4 separate regions of the Homo sapiens genome follow, and regions 1, 2 and 4 are each linked to region 3. The links are contacts of gene promoters, found by promoter capture Hi-C in blood cells and fetal thymus (Javierre and others, 2016). All regions are on one chromosome and are shown on one strand. Each heading gives the region's core, a stretch centred on a gene start or on the middle of the fragment in contact. The rest is flanking DNA. Distances are from core to core; before and after follow the strand shown. Region 1 overlaps NF2 (NF2, moesin-ezrin-radixin like (MERLIN) tumor suppressor). Region 2 overlaps NF2 (NF2, moesin-ezrin-radixin like (MERLIN) tumor suppressor). Region 3 holds the start of OSM (oncostatin M). Region 4 overlaps NF2 (NF2, moesin-ezrin-radixin like (MERLIN) tumor suppressor).

Region 1 (3,269 bases), core at 160-2,659, 580 kb after region 3:
TTACACTTCCTCTCCACTACTACATATTGAAAACGAAGGAGCGGGGGAGGGTGTAGACACAAAAGGACGTGCAGATCCTCTGGCACCGGATCCACAGGGAGAAAGCAGACTCAGAGCAGAAAGGTGACAGCTGAATCCAGCAGCAGCAAATTCCAAAAGAATCTTTGGTTTGGGGTGTGGGAAACCTTCCCCCTTCCAAATAAGCAAAGAGGAAGGGCCAGTAAAGGGGGATGGCTGTACTAAGTGGCCAGATCAAGCTTTTCTTTACTTTCTCTTTTTTTTTTTTTTTTTTTTTTTGAGACGGAGTCTCACTCCGTTGCCAGGCTGAACTGCAGTGGCGCGATCTCCGCTCACTGCAGCCTCTGCCTCCTGGGTTTAAGTGATTCTCCTGCCTCAGCCTCCTGAGTAGCTGGAACTACAGGCGCATGCCACCACGCCCAGCTAATTTTTGTATTTTTAGTAGAGACAGGGTTTCACCATGTTGGCCAGGATGGTCTCAATCTCTTGACTTCGTGATCCGCCTGCCTCGGCCTCCCAAAGTGCTGGGATTACAGGCATAAGCCACCGCGTCCGGCCCAGATCAAGCTTTTCTGCAGTCTGGCTAGGGACAGCTGCACCCAAATGCCATATGGTGATGTGCACAGTGGGAGCACTATCCACACACTTATCCTACACAGAGGTGGAACGAAAGGCCAAGTCCACCCCAATGAACAAATCCAATTTGTTATTAGCGACTTTATCTGCTCTCAAGAGAAATCTGCCACTGAATACCCAAGGGGCCCTTTTTGTGTATTAATCCCTGAGGGACCCAAAGCAGCAAAAGCTGCCTGAAAACCTGTCTACCTGCTTTGCAGGCTGCCCTGTGGCACTGGCCGGCGGGGCCCTCCGCTGCTCCTCTGTTCCTTCCCCTGACAAATGGCCTAATGGGCCTGATTCACCTCACTGGGCAGGTGGCGGCTATCTACTGAGTGGTCTGAGCAAGAGCCTTAGGAAAAAGGTCCAGATAGACTGATGTCATTTTAAAATTGCCAACATCAAAAGAGAAATCACAGCAAGGATCATGAGAACAGAACCTCGGGCTCGCAGAACGAGTTTGCATCTGGCTCTTCCCTCCCACTGTTGCAGCAACGAATCCGGTGCCGAGGAGAGCTGCACTGAAACACATCTTCAGTGCCGAGGGGCCGAACAGGGTGTTTTACTGCCTCAAATAAGGCCTGGTAATATCCTCAGGCATCTCCAAATGGTGGTAAAGTACCTAGGCAGGCAAGGCAGGTTTGTAGGCTCTTCAACACCTCCCAAAGAACAACTGCTTGACCAGGTAAAGTCTCTTAACCAAAAACAGGATTGGCTTGTTGACTTTTAGAAGAGGCCGATACAGTCTTCTATCTAGAGCTACCAGAAACAAGCAAGAAAACTAAGCTCTCAACAGTTACGAGACACCAGGAACTCAGTGTGTGAGAGTGGTAGGAGTGGCCTTCAGGGATGAGCCCAAGGTGTCCCATCCGGGAGGAGCACTAAGAGCAGCCTGCAGTTCCTAATGCCTTCCCTGGGCTTCCACAGAGCCAGGAGGCGGAGAGGAAGAGTTCAGATCGCCACTGCAATTTCTTCCCAGTGTGCTATGCCCACATCTGGTGCTGCTACTGCTCCCTGTTAATCCTTGCTCCCCACCCCACTCCCCACTCCTTTTTCTTTCCTTCCCCCTCTCACCCCTGCCTTGCTCTAGCAGGGAAGGTTCAGGGCTGGGGAGCCAGTATGCTACCTTTTATGTCAAGGCCAAGATGCTCTACCATACAACGCCCAGTTCCTAAAGCAAGCAGAGCCATTCAGCCCACTGGGGTCATAAGGAGGGTTGGCTATATTAACTACCTATTAAACTTAAGTAATTTAGGAGCCATCTTCAGGGCTGGCAATGCAGACCAGAGGTCGCCAGGGAGGCTCTGGCCACTTGTTTTAATTGTGGGAGACACCTTTCCCGCATATGCAATCTCTCTCTGTGATTTATCACTTCCCCGGGTGTTTTTTTAACTGTTCTACTTCACTTCACTGGCTCTGCAACTCCAAGGGGAGCCTGCACAAATTGAAGATGACATTGGACTTTTATGTCTTCCTGATCCAAGAGAAGCTGCTGGCGCTTGAGATAAATGTCAAGGCTCCTCTTCTTCCTGTTCCTCCATCAGTGGAAACCACAGCTGGACCTTGACGGTTCAAACCATTTACTAATGAAATAAGCTTTCTAAGCTCCACCACCCCCATGATTTCTCATCCGTCAATTTCCTTGGAAATCCTGTGCTCCTTGGGAGACCACAGGCACAAAAGTGATGACTTTGTTTGCTGGCACTCAGACCAGCTCAGGATCGGGAGACTGAAACCCCTCTCTTGAGAAGCGATGAAAGAAAGACCCTGAATGTATATATTCCAGGACTGCATTCTACCATCAAGGTATGGTGGTACAGTTACGCCACACCAAGCCACCACTCCCATCATTGGCACTGTGGCTCTGAAGGCACGAAAGCCAGGCTCAAGGCACCCTGTGTCCCTCAACCCCAGCCTGATGGCCAGACTCACTCCCCTCACTCGGAAGGCTCAGATGCCAGGACACGTGTCGCTCCCACTGAGAATGAAACAATTCCAGGTTCCCCAGGGCGGCTTTTGATCGCTAGCACTGCTCTGACTCAGATGCAAATGGCAAACTAGTTGTACTGATCATCAATTGGGAAAAATGGAAATACAGGAAGTTAAGATTAGCAAGAGGAGAAAAATACATCCTTGCAAACCCAAGTGAAATATTACAAGGAAACAGTGAAGTTAATTATGGCTATTTATTTATTTATTTATGAGATGGAATCTTGCTCTTGTTGCCCAGGCTGGAGTGCAATGGCACGATCTTGGCTCACTGCAACCCCCACCTCCCAGGTTCAAGCAATTCTCCTGCCTCAGCCTCCCAAGTAGCTGGGTTTACAGGCATGCGCCACCACACCTGGCAAATTTTGTATTTTTGGTAGAGACGGGGTTTCTCCATGTTGGTCAGGCTGGTCTCGAACTCCTGACCTCAGGTGATTCACCTGCCTCGGCCTCCCAACGTGCTGGGATTATAGGCATGAGCCACTGTGCCCGGCCAATTATGGCTTTTTAAAAGTTTTTACTTTCAGCCACGTAGCAATTAATACAATGAATGAATATGCCCAGCACAAGCAGTGTACCTAGATGTGGCGGTGTGGCCCACATGCCGTCCTTCGCCCTTTGCTGCAGGATCACAAGCAGATTTTCCC
Region 2 (3,089 bases), core at 1-2,500, 600 kb after region 3:
AAAAGGTATAAAACAAGAGCAGGTATGTCCACGGCCAAAAGACTCCTGCCAGCCCATGACCACTCCTCGCCTCCCAGGCCAGGACTGACCACACAGTGACATCATCAGTTAAAACAAGGTTGTGCTCACCTGCTTTCTAGCCTTCTCCTCCCTGGCCTGGGCTTTCATCTGCTGAACTTCCAAAGAATCGGCTTTCCTTCTCCTCATAAATAGATCATGGTTCCCGATACATAGCTGGAGAATCTGTGGCCACAGAAGCAGACAAAAAGGTTAATATCCACAAATTTACTTCACTGCCTACTGGCCCACTAGTGCCATAGCAGTTTGAGCTCTTGCAGGTAGCAGTAAACGTGAAGATGAATGCATAGAGTGAAACACCAAAGCCCTACTAGTGGCCTCTAGTGCCGTCAGCTCTGGAAACATGCAAAATGAAGGCGCCTCAGATATGCCAGGAGGTAAAAATCATAAATCAAGAGAGGACTGGAGGACACTTCACCATGTCTTCTGGGTGCACCTTACTCTCCTACATCAAGATGTGGTTCTGCAGACCAGGGAGGATAGGAAAGCTCGTTCAGTAAGCTGGGCTGAGGCAACAGGTTATGCATGTGGAAAAAAATAAGTTGTATCCCTCCCTTACACCTTACACAAAAATCAACTCCAGAAGGATTAAATACTTAAATGCAAAGATTAAGCCCTTGAAACTTTTAGAAGACAATATAGAAGAATATCTTTATGATCATAGGATAAGAGAAGATGCCAAGTAAGACACAAAAAGTGATTAAGGAAAAAATGTATATATTTGTCTACATTAAAATTAAAAATTCTTATTGTCAAGACATAAAAAAAGAAAAAGAGCAACAAACTGGAAGATATAGCCAATAAAGAAAACAGGCTAGGTGCAGTAGCTCACACCTGTAATCCCAGCACTTTCGGAGGCCAAGGTGAGAGGATCCTTGAGCCCAGGAGTTCAAGACCAGCCTGGGTGACATAGTGAGACGCCATCTCCACAAAAAACTCAAAACATTTGGCCAGACCTGGTGGCTCAGCACTTTGGGAAGTGTAATCCTAGCACTTTGGGAAGGGGAGGCAGGCAGATTGCTTGAGCCCAGGAGTTTAAGACAAGCCTGGACAACATGGCAAAACTTTGTCTCTATAAAAAAAATACAAAAAATTAGCTGGGCATGGTGGTGTGTGTCTGTAGTCCCAGCTACTGGGGAGGGTGAGGTGGGAGGATCACTGAGCCTGGGCAGGTCCATGCTGCAGTGAGACATGATCGTGTCATTACATTTCAGCCTGGGCAACAGAGTGAGACCCTATCTCAAAATCTCAAAAAAAAAAAGTTCATTTGATAATGAGATACCATTTTAGATGCACAAGATTGGCAAAAATTTTAAAAGGCTGATAATACAAGTATTAAGGATAGCAAAAAACAAACTTCACCCACTACTGTTGGGTCTGTAAAAATCGATTCACCTTCTTTAGAAAACAATGTGTCATAATTTTGAAATTTAAACATATACCAAGCCCTGTACTTCTACTCCTGTGTATATACTCTAAGCTCTATTTTTGATTTATTTTTATGTATTTATTTTTTTTTTGGAGACGAAGTTTTACTCTTGTTGCCCAGGCTGGAGTGCAATGGCATGATCTCGGCTCACTGCAACCTCCACCTCCTGGGTTCAAGCGATCTCCTGCCTCAGCCTCCTAAGTAGCTGGGATTTATAGGCATGCGCCACCACGCCCAGCTAATTTTGTATTTTTAGTAGAGACAGGATTTCTCCATGTTGGTCAGGCTGGTCTTGAACTCCTGACCTCAGGTGATCCGCCTGCCTCAGCCTCCCAAAGTGCTGGGATTACAGGAGTTGAGCCACTGTGCCTGGCCCTCTTTTTTATTATTTAAAAATTTTATTTATTTTCATTTTTTTGGAGACAGGGTCTTGCTATGTTGCCCAGGTTGGTCTCGAACTCCTGGCCTCAAACAGTTATCCTGCCTTGACCTCTCCAAGTGCTGAGATTACAGGCGTGAGCCACCCCACCTAGCCCAGTATACTCAAGACTCCAAAGAAACTATTGCCTATGTGCACCAGGAGGCAGATACAAAAGTTTTCATAACAGCCTGTTAAAACAGTATAGAAGTGGCTGGGTGCAGTGGCTCACGCCTGTAATCCCAGCACTTTGGGAGGCCAAGGTGGGCAGATCACAAGGTCAGGAGTTCGAGACCAGCCTGACCAACATGGTGAAACACCATCTCTACTAAAAATACAAAAATTAGCCGGGCGTGGTAGTGGCCGCCTGTAATCCCAGCTACTCAGGAGGCTGAGGCAGGAGAATTGCTTAAATCCGGGAGGCGGAGGTTGCAGTGAGCCGAGATTGTGCCTGGGCAACAGAGTGAGACCCCATTTCAAAAAAAAAAGTATAGAAGTAAAAAGCACTTAATTATCCATTAACAGAAGAATCAGAAAAATATATAACAGAGTGCTACAGAGGTGAGAATGAACAGACTATCTTTAAGCATCAACAAAGATATATCTCAAAAAAATAATGAAAAAGGAAAAGGAAAATGACAAAAGAATATATATACTTGACAGCATTTAGATAAATTTCATAAACATATGACATTGAATGGTATTTTTCTTTTGCCATATATGAAATAAAATTCTGTTGAAAAGCAAGAGGATGATGAATACTCAACTCAAAACAGTGATCACCCTTGGGGAGAGGGAAAGGAGAGACCAGCAGGGTGTTAACATGAAGGGTCTCAACAGTATTGGGACTGTGCTATTTCTTTTTTCCTTTTTCTTTTTCTTTTTTTTTTTTTTTCCTGACCTTGTGATCCACCCGTCTCGGCCACCCAAAGTGCTGGGATTACAGGCGTAAGCCACCGCACCCGGCCAGGACTGTGCTATTTCTTAAAGTGGGGTTGTGGGTACACAGCTATTCACTTTTGTTATTCTTTATAATTCATATGTTACACTTATCCTTTTATATGTATGAAATACTGCATTAAAAATCCTTTTTAAAAATTCCTCATCGGCTGGGCGCAGTGGGTCATGACTGTAATCCCAGCACTTTGGGAAGCCCAGGCGGAT
Region 3 (3,242 bases), core at 434-2,933:
CTTCAGCGGAAGCGACATTCTCAGGATGAGAATCCAGAACTGGCCCCTGGGGGTGGTGAGGGGGAGGTATGAGGCCTGGTGTGGTGAGTCCCAGCCTGGGTGCCGGGGAGTGGGTAGGGGCTGAAGAGCAGCCTCCTGGGCGTGGGGTCGCCTATTTTTGCCTACTACGTGATCCTCAGACCTGGGAGTGGCTGGTGCAGCATGGAGCCAAATAAAGGTTTGTCGAATGAATAAATGAGTGATGGGGAGAATGGGTGGCAACTGCCTTGGTGGCCACAGTGGGCATCGGGAGCAGGCATGGACAGGGGTGCATCCAACCTCCTCCTTTCTGGCTGCCCCAGCTCTCCTTGCTCAGGCGCCCCAGACCCCATGCTCCCTCCAGCTGGAGCAGCTCAGGCCTCCCTGGCAGCCTCCAGGAGTCCCACCCTGACTCCCCAGACTCCTGAGGGCCTCCTCCCACCCGGGCTTCTTAGGGTGCAGGCCAAGGACCCTCCTCTGGGCCTGGGAGATGTGCTGACCAGGCAGGGTCTATAGGCCTGGGCCAGCCTCTTGGCCTCCCTGTCTGCCTTCACCCAGGCCTCAGTTTACCCCACAGTAAAGTAGCAGTTTGACTAGGGAGGCGCTGTTCCCAGGGCCCTTTCGCAGAGGACCAACCTAAGATCGCTATCTTTCAGAGAAAGTGAAACCTGGTCCCCAACTGTCAAGGCGGCAACTCCCCCTCCCCGGCTTCCCCTCTGAGCTCACAGCTTCCCCATCTCCTCCTTCCCCCATCCCGCCCCCTCGACAGCTAATACTTGGAATCAGACCTTCATCTTTGCTTTTTCCTTCAGAGGTCTTTTCCTTTTATGTCCATGCTGGCAGCAACCCTGTGAGGTGGGCTGGGAAAGGCTTTTCTCCTCCTCATTTTATAGTTGTGGGTCTCTGAGGCCCAGAGAGGTTAAGTGACTTGCCTCAGGTCACACAGCACCTCAGCAGGCTTGAACCCTGGCCTCCTGTTTCTCTTGCTCCAAGTGTCCAGTTCTCCCCAGTGGAGCCTGCCTACAAAGACAAGGCCTGGCTTTGGGGAGTGGGCCTGGCAGAGGGTGCACGATGGGGGAAAGGAGACCGTCGGGAGCCGGGCTGGGGGATGCTGGTCCTGGGGCCTGAACCACAATCTCGGGGCTGCCAGCCTGCGTCTGGCTCTGTGCCCAGAGCCCGGTGGTTTCCGCTCACAGATGTCCCAACAGCCCCGGCGAGAGGGCAGGAAGGGCACTCAAGAAGGAAGATGTCTCGCTCCCCTCAGCCCCCAACCACCGTGTCCTGTGAGGCCAATGGCTCCTGGGCCAAGACTGGCCTGGGGCCTCCAGAGGCCCAGCTCGAAGTCCCTCCTGCCCATCCCTGGCCCAGTTCCCTGAAGATGGCATGGACCCTTTTCCTCCCCACTCACCCTAGGAAGGCTGAGGCTGCGGTTTTACATCATCCTTGGGCGTAGGGCTGACCTCGAAGAACGAATTCGAAGAAAACAGGAGGAGGAGCGGGCATACACCGCGCCCTGCGCCCATTGGCCGCCCGTGGAAATTTTGGTTTTTGGGGTCATGTTCCCAGAAGGCCTGCCCTCCCCCCTCCCCATCCCCACCCACCTCATGAGGTGTTGGCCAATCGCCCCAGCGGGCATAAAGTGGCTGCCAGCCTGCAGGGCTCCCAGCCGAGAGGTGTCACCCCCAGCGGGCGCGGGCCGGAGCACGGGCACCCAGCATGGGGGTACTGCTCACACAGAGGACGCTGCTCAGTAAGTACTTCCTTCCTCCCCGCCAGAACCCGCCTGCTGGGTCTGCCCACGGGTGCCGGTGGGGAGCAGAGGCACCCTCTGCCCTCCGGGAACTGGGGAGGCCAGGCGCCAGGCAGAAGGATGCTGAGAAGGGGAGAGAGCCAGGAGGTCAGGCAGAGAGAGTGGTCCACTGAGAACCTGGCATCTCCACAGGTAGAGAAGGGGCATCCCTGGAAGGCTTCCAGGGGGAGGTGATGTCAAGATGTAGAGGCAACTCTGGGAACCAGGGGGTGAGAGAATAGGATGGGCAAAGAGGCTGGGCAGGAGAGGGAGGCTCAGAAGCTGGGCAGGGAAGTGGTGTGAGGTGTGGAGGGGTTGTGGGGCCTCCAGCTTGCCCGGGATGAATAGAAAGTCAGCCAGGCCTGGGGGCCCCAGGGCCCACACAATCACACAGCATGCACAGCCACACCCACATGGCCACATGCGCACACAGCCATATGACGTCATCTACAGCCCTGGATCTCACCAGCCCAGGAACCCCCACATGCAGACCAGAGTCCCCATGGTGAACGGAACAGGTCTCCCTCACGCCGCACACAGACCCAGATGCACAGCCACACAGAAACCCCAGTCCCACGTGCGCTGCCACAGGCACAGGCCCCTGCCAGAGCCCGGCAGCAGATACCTGGGGAGGCGGCGAGGGTGCCGTGGGGTCGCTAAGCCTGGGTGCCTGGCCCCTTGGCCCTCCCCAACAGCCAGTCTTCCCCAAAGGGCCGGATGGTTCTTAGGACGGGAACGATGGTGTCACTGCCTTCCGGGCCATTGCGCCATAGGCCCCTTCCGACCACGTGGCTGCCGGTGCCCCGTTGGGGGTGGTGGTGAGCGGTAACTGTACCCGCCCCCAACACCTTCTGACAGGCTCACAGCATCCCTGGTGGGCCTGACAGAAGGAGCCACTTATGGAGAGAGGAGGGAGGCAAGAGAGGTCAGGGGAGAGCCCTGGCCTTGTGTGACCTGAGTAGGACCTTCTCCTGAGACTTGGTTTACCTGTCAGGAAAGTGGGGACATGGACTGGAAGGTCTTCCACATCTGTTCCAGGCTGCACCTCTGGTTGAAAAGGCAGCCTCTCCTGGTTCTAGACAGAGCTGAGGACACAAGCTGCTCCCGGGCTGCCTGCCCTGAAGCCCTCTCAGGCCCATCTACCTGGATGGCCAGAGCAGCTGACAAGGCAGGTCCTAGGGCAGTGGCCGGTCTTTAGCCCAGTGGTCTTGCAGGGAGCCAGTCCCACCTTGCAGAGAGTCAGCTCCCGAGGTTAGAACCGTGCTGTAGGCAGGACTGGGATCCGGCCAGGCACTGCAGCCTTTGCTCAAAGACCTACTTGGTAAATCGCAGCCACTGTCTCAGTCCCTCCCACTGCTTGCTGTGTCAGGCCCTGGGCAGTGACTTACTGGGGAGATGATGGTGGCCTTGGTGGGCACACCTGGGCACACACCGT
Region 4 (3,216 bases), core at 645-3,144, 630 kb after region 3:
AGTCACCCAGAGCAAATTCAAACTCCTGGTATCTAAACCCAGGTGACGAATAGATATCAATATACTGTAGTGTGTTTATCCTATAGCCTCACTTTCAAAAGAACCTGAAGCAATGGCAATCTCTTTTCTCAGCTATTCCATCTGCTATGTGGAAAAGCAAGTTCAATGTCTTAAGGGAAGAGAATGGCTGGCAACTTAGTAAATGTTGCCACCTAGTGGCTTTCAAGTTAAACCACCAGGATGTTCCCATACAACCCCTTAGTTGCTGCTTGCCCCCTCCTTGCCCCAACCACCCCTAAATATCAGATGGACATTCAAATACAAACTCGAGTGCATTAGGATCATATGAGATGCATCATAGAAATGGTGGTCATGAAAGAGTAATCTTTCGACAGACATGGGAAAAATGAGACCACTCAATTGCAGAAGCATCCGTCCCTTCCTGCCCTCATTAGAAATCTCCACTCAAAGTCTTGGCACACTGAAGATGTATATAATGAAAAGGAATGAAAAAAATTCTTAGGCAGCCGGGCGTGGTGGTTCACACCTGTAATCCCAGCACTTTGGGAGGCTGAGGCAGGCGAATCATGAGGTCAGGAGATCGAGACCATCCTGGCCAACATGGTGAAACCCTGTCTCTAGTAAAATACTAAAAAATTAGCCAGGTGTGGTAGCGCATGCCTGTAGTCCCAGCTACTCGGGAGGCTGAGGCAGGGGAATCACTCGAAACCGGGAGGCGGAGGTTGCAGTGAGCCGAGATCATGCCACTGCACTCCAGCCTGGCGACAAAGCAAGACTCCATCTCAAACAAACAAACAAAAAATCTTAGGGTTTAGAGACTTGCTATAAAACCAAGAAGGGAAAAATAAGTTAGACCTCTGATACCTGATTGGTTTTTGCTAAAACCTGATTCTACAGGGGAGTTTTCAAGTAGGCTTTTCATTTTTAACACATATGAATGAACAGTGGGTTCTCTACAAGGTACTCAACAGGAAAGCCCATCCCTTCTCTGTGTTTGCAGTCAAAGTCAAGCAAAGCAGCAACCTAGATGGAAGAATATCAGGACCACAGCAGACAAGTAGCTGAGATGCATACTGGCTTTTATCTTTTAGCAGGGCCGTTTCTCCTATCTGTCCTTCAACTTCTGCCCTGTCTCCTCTCTGACTATAGTGGGGCCACTGGAACACTATAAAGATTGAGGTCTTTAGGGATTATTTTGAGAAGAATAAAAGAAAATGATGAGTTTTATTTTTAACAGATGATCTCCTTCCTCGTTTTTAAGGCTGAGTAATGGGCACATCCATTTCCCAGTCTGACAATAGGACAAAAAGCTTTTTAATTCACCAAAAGTTTTAATTCCTACAGGCAGACTTCACTGAAGAAATGTTATTTTGGAAAACTAGAAGTTTCAGGATGCTGATTATCCTCTTGTCTCTATTTTAAGGCAGCTCTAGTATATAAATTATAAATGACTACCTTGCTACAAGATAATGTAACATTAAAGAACAGGCATTAACTTGGAAAAGGTAAACACCCAAGGGTTGAGAAGATCAAGGTAACGATTCCCAATCTGCCATAACTCATGGTCATGGCTGGGCTGGGCTTTGGCAAGAAGGGGCTGTCTGTAAGTGGGGTGTGCAGTGCAGAGAAACAAAAGCTGCCAAGGGAATGATGAGTGAATTTCCTGACATGGGAGTTTAAATTCTCCAGCATAAAATTGTATTAATGCAGTTTTCCTGTATTCCCTTCTACTTTGTTTTTAAAATGCAAAACTGTCTTTGTTGAATGCAAAAAGACAATGTATTTGTCCCCTTGGCACTTGCAATACAGTGAGAAGTGCATCAACTCTGACACCAATTCAGAATGCCCTACTTAGATTTTTAACTTTGACACAAAGGATCGTAGACTGTCAAGAGTTGGAAATGAGCATGAGTAATTACCTAATGTAGACTCATACCCTTTTTGTGCAAATAAGGAAACTGAGTCACAGGATTCTTTGCCAGCTGCCAAAGCATACACTGGCCTTTTTCACGGTGATCTAACATAGGCAAACCGCAGACCCTAGAGTGCCTCTTTTCCTGTTCTGTGGGGTCCCTTTGTTCTTGCTGTCCAGCACTCCCCAGACACCTTTTCCAGTAAGTAACCAGTGTTTGAAACAAAATCCATTCTCAGAAGAGTCAGATATTGCTCGTTTACAGCTCAATGTGAATTAAGCCTCTGTTACCTCCCACTTATTCTTTCAACAAGGATTATAGAGCACACCCTACATGCCAACCAATGTTAGACACTGATGCTACAAAATGGTGGAAGCAGTGTTCTGCAGGAGAAACAGGCAAGACCTAGGTCAGAGAAGGCTTTAAAGAGCAAGTGAGAGTTAGATGCAGGAGAGAAGGAAATAAGTCTTTTTTTAAAAGTCATGCTTTCTACAGGAAACTGCAAGTCATCTTGTAAAGCTTAAACAGACAGGAGGTGGCATGGCGGGAATGGGGCTCCATTTGGGACCAGGTGGCTCAACTTCAGCCAAAAGCTGCAAAGTCTTTGAAGACCCTTGAGCAGACGAGTCATAGGCTCCAATCTGCAATCTGGATGGGCTCTGACAACAGGGTGGAGTATGAGTTGAACAAAAGAAGCCCTGGATCAAGAAGGCCAGAAAGTAGGCCAACCCCTGACATAAGGAAGGCAGTAGAAGGGAGAGAAGGCAGCCTGAGAAACGGAAAAGAGGCAGAGTCACAGAACAGGTGCCTGAACAGGACCAGAGGAGACAGAATTAAGAGGGACACCTGTGTGTCTGGCTTGAGTACCAGGTGGTTCCACTAAAGGAGAGATGGAATCAAGGAGAAGCAGCAAATCTGGCAGGGATAGACCAGCAATTAAGTTTTAGACAAGATGAGTGAAGGTGCCTGAGGAAACCAAGTAAAGACGTTCAAACATATTTGATTTAAAGCCCTAATTCCACTTATAAAATAAAATTTTGTCTTTAAGCAATTAAGAAGTCTTTCTGTTTGGTTAAATCTAACCTCAACATGTTGCTACCTACATCAGGTTCCACTTTCCAACAAGCCCTTCCCCAAATGCATGAGGTTTGCTCAGTCTTCCTAATTTGGGTTTCTACTTCTTTAAAAACAAGCGCCATTGGTCACAGTTGCTCTGGGTGGTTCTCAGGACACCCTGGGAAAAGAGGTCTTGGGGTGTGGACGGGACTTCCAGGTGTCAGCC

Evidence for each region. The method cuts DNA at HindIII sites, captures the fragments that hold promoters and counts their contacts. A CHiCAGO score of 5 or more calls a contact.
Region 1: a contact is called between a fragment that was not itself captured here and the fragment with the promoter of OSM in region 3, in 1 of 17 cell types (erythroblasts). The highest score is 6.2, in erythroblasts.
Region 2: a contact is called between a fragment that was not itself captured here and the fragment with the promoter of OSM in region 3, in 1 of 17 cell types (M0 macrophages). The highest score is 5.5, in M0 macrophages.
Region 4: a contact is called between a fragment that was not itself captured here and the fragment with the promoter of OSM in region 3, in 4 of 17 cell types (erythroblasts, fetal thymus, M0 macrophages and 1 more). The highest score is 5.8, in erythroblasts.

Annotation. Positions count from the first base shown.
Region 1 is chr22:29,686,206-29,689,474 of GRCh38, reverse strand. The region is part of intron 15 of NF2 (NF2, moesin-ezrin-radixin like (MERLIN) tumor suppressor); the gene reads right to left. Among named protein-coding and RNA genes, the nearest start is that of CABP7-DT, 32 kb to the left of the region's middle. RefSeq lists enhancers at 1-30, 250-749, 750-1,251. The HindIII fragment of the contact is 1,644 bases long and covers 588-2,231 here.
Region 2 is chr22:29,665,487-29,668,575 of GRCh38, reverse strand. NF2 (NF2, moesin-ezrin-radixin like (MERLIN) tumor suppressor) reads right to left here. Exons shown (of 16, transcript NM_000268.4): 10 at 130-243. Among named protein-coding and RNA genes, the nearest start is that of CABP7-DT, 53 kb to the left of the region's middle. The HindIII fragment of the contact is 4,563 bases long and covers 1-3,089 here.
Region 3 is chr22:30,265,292-30,268,533 of GRCh38, reverse strand. It overlaps OSM (oncostatin M), which reads left to right and starts at 1,683. Exons shown (of 3, transcript NM_020530.6): 1 at 1,683-1,768. The coding sequence starts at 1,735. RefSeq lists enhancers at 2,280-2,379, 2,440-2,519. The HindIII fragment of the contact is 8,742 bases long and covers 1-3,242 here.
Region 4 is chr22:29,632,937-29,636,152 of GRCh38, reverse strand. The region is part of intron 1 of NF2 (NF2, moesin-ezrin-radixin like (MERLIN) tumor suppressor); the gene reads right to left. Among named protein-coding and RNA genes, the nearest start is that of NF2, 31 kb to the right of the region's middle. The HindIII fragment of the contact is 1,122 bases long and covers 1,334-2,455 here.